2 separate regions of the Homo sapiens genome follow, and region 2 is linked to region 1. The links are contacts of gene promoters, found by promoter capture Hi-C in blood cells and fetal thymus (Javierre and others, 2016). All regions are on one chromosome and are shown on one strand. Each heading gives the region's core, a stretch centred on a gene start or on the middle of the fragment in contact. The rest is flanking DNA. Distances are from core to core; before and after follow the strand shown.

Region 1 (3,131 bases), core at 540-3,039:
TTTATTTTACTTGTGAAGCCAAGTGAGAAGCAGTGAAATGAGGAAAATTCCTAGTGGTCTTGTGCCAGTGAAACTACCTATGTTTCTGTAGGGCCTTGATTACAGATGGGGCAAAACTTGATCGAGTTTCACAGAAAAGCAGAAGGAACTTCAGTGAAGAAGTGGTCGCCTGCTCCCTGAATCCAAGCACTGCCCAGCTACACCAGGCACTGGTGGGAAGAAACTGGGCTGCAGCTGGATCCTTCAAGGAGCAGCTTTGTGTATGCAAATGCCTATTTCAGTACCCTTAGAACTGTATAAATGATCACACACAAGATGCACCTCATAAATTAACTGCCATTTATATAGAAGTAACATAGGCTTCTGTTCATTACTTTCAATCATAGAATAGTAATAGAATAGGCTGCAAATTAAAAACCAGTGTGCACCAATAGTATATAGCACCAGCAATCCAGTTTTTTTTGTTTTTTTTTTTTTTGAGACAGAGTTTCGCTCCCAGGCTGGAGTGAAGTGGCGCAATCTCTGCTCACTGCAACCTCCGCCCCCCGGGTTCAAGTGATTCTACCGCCTCTGCCTCCTAAGTAGCTGGGATTGCAGCCAACATGCCCGGCTAATTTTTGTATTTTTAGTAGAGGCGGGGTTTTGCCACGTTGGCCAGGCTAGTCTCCAACTCCTGACCTCAGGCGATCGACCCGCCTTGGCCTCCCAAAGTGCTGGGATTACCGGCGTGAGCCACCGCGCCGGGCCCCATTTCTTTTCTTTCTGAGACGGAGTCTCTCTGTCGCCAGGCTGGAGTGCAATAGCGCCATCTCGGCTCACTGCAATCTCCGCCTCCCGGGTTCAACTGATTCTCCTGCCTCAGCCTCCTGAGAAGCTGGGATTACAGGCACGCGCCACCACGCCCGGCTGGTTTTTTGTATTTTTAGTAGAGACGGGGGTTTCACCATGTTGGCCAGGCTGGTCTTGAACTCCTGACCTCAAGTGATCCGCCTGCCTCGGCCTTCCAAAGTGCTAGGATTACAGGCGTGAGCCACCCATTTCTTAAAAAGTATATTTTAATGCTGGGGACGGTGGCTCATGCCTGTAATTCCAGTACTTTGGGAGGCCGAGGTGCGGGGATGCTTGAGCCCAGGAGTTGGAGACCAGCCGGGGTAACAGAGCGATAAAAAGAATAAACAAAAAACAACAGAACCCCGGCATATTTTTAAAAATGAGTTGTGTAATAGGATTTTTTTTTTTTCGGTGGAGATGTAAGTAAGCAAAGGAGATGTGCTACTAGTGATCAAAAGGGGATTATAAAACATTCATTCCCTAGACTTTTTTTGCACTTTAACATTCCTTTTTGGCAATTGGGCTCTCAGTCCCACGTGACCTGCCGCAGGGTTGCCATGGGGACCGGAAGAAACTTTTTTTTTTTAAAACAAAGTAAGGCTCCTGTCGCCCGAGGCACTAGAAAATCGAGGCCCCGCCCTCACTTGGCCAGGGGCCCGGGCGCGCAGCCCAGGGACTGGGAGCGGTGAGAAGCCGCACGCCTGGCGCTCGGCGGCGGGGGCGCGGCGCGCGGCCGGGAGCGCGCGTCACGTGGCTGGGGCGGGGCCTGCGCGCTGCCCGCCCGCCAGCTGCCGGCTCGGCCGCCGCAGCCGCGGCGTCCCATTCATGAGGGCCGCCCGACTCAGCTGCGGCCCAGGCGGCTTCCAAGGCAGCGGCGGCTGCGGGCGCTCCGACCCCGCGCGCGCCCCCGACCGGCCCCGCCCCCTCGGCTTCCCTCCCCGGCGGGTCCTAGCCGTCGCAGTCCAGCCGCCGCCTGCCCTCAGCCGCCCGCTGGCCGGGAGCGGAGCCCCTGTGGGTAAGTGGGCGCGGGCCGGGCTCCTCGCAGGCGTCCCTCCGGGGCTGGCGGTGAGTGTCTGCGCCTGGGGGCTTCCCTTGGCGCGGGCCCGGGGCTGTCCTGCCGGAGGCCGGGACCCTCCGGGGCGGCGCGGGTTGAGCCGCCCCTCCTCGCGCCGCGGTCCCCGCTTCCCGGTCCTCGCGTCCCAGTCCCCGCCTCGCCGCGACCGCGCCACGTAGACGCGGCCCCTACCGCCGCCGCCGCAGGACGGACCGGCGGGGTGCGCGGGGAGCCGGGGGCGTCGGGGCGTCAGTGGTGGCTGCTGAGGACTCTGAACCCGCGCAGTTCCCTCGCCGCCGCCCTGGGGATGGTTACCCGAGACCACCCCTACCCCTGGGTTTGGGGCGCGGAGGGGAGTGCGGAAGGCGCGCGGGAGGCCGCGTCTCCATCCCGCCCCCGGCCCTGCGGGAGGGGGCGCCGGGCACGTGATCTGCGGCGAGGCGGGGGCCGCCGAGTTGCTGGTGTTTCTTCCCCGCCGCGCTTTGCCCCGTACCTCCGCCTTCAAGCTGTGTGGACCGGATTCAAATGTGGTTAGTTTTCTCAAAGCCCCCCAGCCCCCGGTGCAGATCTTAATTTGTGAGGAACACGTTCAGATACAGTTTGTACTGAGAGCCTCTCTGTCCACTTCTAACGCCAGCGGATCACCATTTTCTCCACTCGCCTGAACATTTTAAGACTCTTTTCATTGAAAATTCAAGATGACATTTTTTAGGCATAATTATGCAAACCAGTACCAGAAAGATCACCCTTCCTTTCCGAAAAGTACTGGAACTCTGAATACTTGGAAATGCTTTGAAGGACTACTTAGTAAATGGCCAAACTAATTTTTAATGCACATTTGGGGCTTACCCATTTTTTTTTTAATTGAAAACGAGGCTCTAGACTTGGTGTCAAGGTAGGTCCTGTTGAATGAAGTTCTTTACCCAGTAGTGATGATGGGTGTTACTGTTTATTAAAACTTGGCCTGGCTAGATTATAATGTTTTGACAATACAAAGTCGGTTTTGAAATACATTTTGAAATATTTACGAATTATTTAGTGGCCCATACTGGTTTATGTTTTAACGGTCTGGTGTTGATCGTTCTTAGTGGCTTCAGATTGAGAAGAAGTGGCAGGTGATGCTGAAGCGGGGGAGAAGCGGCAGAGCCGGCCACACAGTGCAGGGGATGGAGACAGGTGCTGGGCTGGTCCTCCTGCAGCATCCTCAGTTGTTGGAGGGCAGTCATCCTCAGGCCGTACCCAGCCA
Region 2 (3,051 bases), core at 339-2,838, 270 kb after region 1:
ATTATTACGGATCTACAAATAACTCTTATAATAAATTTTTGAGCTAACAAGCTGTCATTATTTTTTATATTTGTCCCCCAAAACGATATAAGACAAACATGTCCAGACTTTTTCCACCTCAAAACTGTTCCACACAACTGTTCCAGGTAACAGTCAATCAACAAATACTTCACTGGCATCAGTAGGTATAAAAAGTGGGTTAATTTATGTTTTGTAAGTGCTCCCAGAAAAAAAAATGCACTGGCTTTTCAGTAAAACCCTTTAGTCAACACACTATTATTCTAAAAACTGTGTTTTATAAAGCACACTGTCACAACCAGTTTATCTGCTTTTTAAACTCACAAGTGAAAAAGATCAATCTCAAACTAAGGCATGAGCATGTTAACCTTTCTTAGATGACCTGCCCCTTTACTAAGATAAATTCACCTACTACCATGATTGTGTGACTTCATTTTCTTTTACAGAAAACATGGGCTGGGAACGGTGGCTCACACCTGTAATCCCAGAACTTTGCGAGAATGAGGCAGAAGAATTGCCTGGGCCCAGGAGCTCAAGATCAGCTTGGTCAGCATGGTGAAACCCAGTCTCTATTAAAAATAAATAAAACTTGTTTCAAAGTTAGCTATCACATCAACAGTTAAAAGTCCTGGCCGGGTGCAGTGGCTCATGCCTGTCATCCCAGCACTTCGGGAGGCCAAGGCGGACATATCGCCTGAGGTCAGGAGTTTGAGACCAACCATGGCCAACAGGTGAAACCCTATCTTTATTTAAAATACAAAATTAGCCAGGAATGGTGGCACATGCCTGTAATCCCAGCTACTTGGGAGGCTGAGGCAGGATAATCGCTTGAACCCAGGAGGTGGAGGTTGCAGTGAGCCAAGATCGTGCCAATGCATTCCACACGCCAGCCTGGGTAACAAGAGTGAAACTCTTTCAAAACAAAAACAAAACAAAACAAAACAAACAAAAAAACCATTAAAGCCCTGCTATTCCATAAGCAAATGTCAGAATCTGGACATTTTAAAACTAGAATTCCATCAAAGGATACAAAATTTCAGTTAGGAGTATTAAGTTCAAAAGATCTATTGTATGATGATGACTACAGTTAATAGTATATTACTATTCTTCAAAACTGCTTCATCTATTGCATGTCCTTTCCGTGACAAGATGATTCTTCAAAACTGCTAAGAGAATAGATTTCAAATGTTTTCACCACAAAAAAAAGTATGAGAATATGTGCGTTAATTAGCTTGATTTAGCCATTCCACAATGTATACATATTTCAAAATATGTTGTACACAATAAATATGTACAATTTTTGTCTGTCAATCAAATTAGAATTCTGAAACTTCAGTAAAAAAAAAAAACAGATTTGACAGACATTTACAAAATTAGTATTTAAAATTTAAGTACTTGCATAGGAAGGCATACCGAAGTATTTACGGATATGACTTGATGTCTGAGATATGCTTTTTAAAACTCCAATAAAAAGTTATTAGATTAGTATAAGAAAACAAAGAACAAAATTGGCAAAAATCAGTAACTGTAGAAACTAGGTAATTGGCACATGGGAGTTTGCTACACTATTCTTTTTATTTTTATGCATGCTTGAAATCCTCTGTAATGTAGTTTTTAAGATCTGAATTATTACACTCATTATTTTTAACAAATGAGGACACAATGATGAATCAAATAACAAAGTATTAAGACTCACATTACCTTGCTTTTTTGTTATTTTTACTGTTAACAACTGTTAGTTGTTACTTCAGCAACAAAATATATCTATTCTGATTCACTGACAATCTGAAAGTAATAAGCCATATGATATTAAATTCTTTCAGTGAAGACATGAAGTGACTTACCTCCTTTAGTTCTGGCCAGTCTATAAGGAGAAGTTTAGCAGGAGGTCCAGAAATTAGTTGCACTCGAATAAAGTCAGAAAACTCACGCCAAGTAAAACAAAGATCCTTATTTCCAGGAGGACCTGGAATAAATTTGATGCCTCTTACACTTATACTCTGTGTGTTTTCCTAGTGAGGAAAAGTACATTGAGAAAGACAGGGGGTATCACTTAGTGTTCAGAAAAACAAAATAAAATGTTTTGTCATTAACCCATGGGCGTACAGATGTGTTTCTTGGTAACATGACAGAAAATAAATAGCACCCATGCAATAATGGCATGCCATGCATTTTATTTTCAAGAGAGGAGAAACTGAATTTTTTCTTTCAAGGGGTAGGGGATCTAAAAGGTTCTGGCAATGTCTCTTTATTTTATCTTTTCTTAATTTCCCTCTTCTTTATACTTCCTCCTTTCTGCTACCTGAATAGCTTTTATACTTGTTCTTTCCCTCTGTTTGCAACATTATTTACCAGATATACACACTGTTTGTCTTTAGATTTTTGTACATGATACCTTAATAAGAGGCTCTTCCCTGATCACCTTACTTATTGGCATACTATCTATCCCCTTCTTTACTTCATTTTTCTTACCTCTTATTTCTTATCTATTGCATGTTCTCTCCATGACAAGATGATTTCCACAAGGTCAGGAGCTTTGATTTGTCACTACTCAATCTCTATTACTTAGAATAATGCGTAACACATCATATTAATGAGAATCAATGAAACTAGCCTATAATCTTTGCAATATGACTGAATGATTCCACACTGGCGTGAGTGCTGCAGTATTTGTATTTTAATGGTGACCCTTGATGATTTATTCATCTTAAATTTCTGCTAGGTACAAATCTACTTCATCAAAATTTTATTTTTGTTTCTGGGCTGCTGTAACAATATTTCAGCAAAATTTTAAAATCAGGCCAGGCACAGTGGCTCCTGACTATAATCCCAGCACTTTACGAGGCCAAGGTGGAAGGATCCCTTGAGCCCAGTTCACGACCAGCCTGGGCAACACAGTAAGACCCCGTCTCTACAAAAAATTTTAAAATTAGCCAGGTGTAGTGGCATGCGTCTATAGTCCTAGCTAGTTGGGAGGCTCTGGTGGGAGGATCACTTGAGCCCAGGAGGTTGAAGCTACAGTGAGCCATATTC

What was found. The method cuts DNA at HindIII sites, captures the fragments that hold promoters and counts their contacts. A CHiCAGO score of 5 or more calls a contact.
Region 2: a contact is called between a fragment that was not itself captured here and the fragment with the promoter of LPIN2 in region 1, in 5 of 17 cell types (naive CD4 T cells, neutrophils, naive CD8 T cells and 2 more). The highest score is 6.0, in naive CD4 T cells.

The regions. Positions count from the first base shown.
Region 1 is chr18:3,011,802-3,014,932 of GRCh38, reverse strand. It overlaps LPIN2 (lipin 2), which reads left to right and starts at 1,789. Exons shown (of 20, transcript NM_001375808.2): 1 at 1,789-1,846. RefSeq lists a silencer at 1,399-2,348. The HindIII fragment of the contact is 8,581 bases long and covers 1-3,131 here.
Region 2 is chr18:2,742,740-2,745,790 of GRCh38, reverse strand. It overlaps SMCHD1 (structural maintenance of chromosomes flexible hinge domain containing 1), which reads right to left. Exons shown (of 48, transcript NM_015295.3): 29 at 1,863-2,030. Among named protein-coding and RNA genes, the nearest start is that of SMCHD1, 89 kb to the right of the region's middle. The HindIII fragment of the contact is 4,572 bases long and covers 1-3,051 here.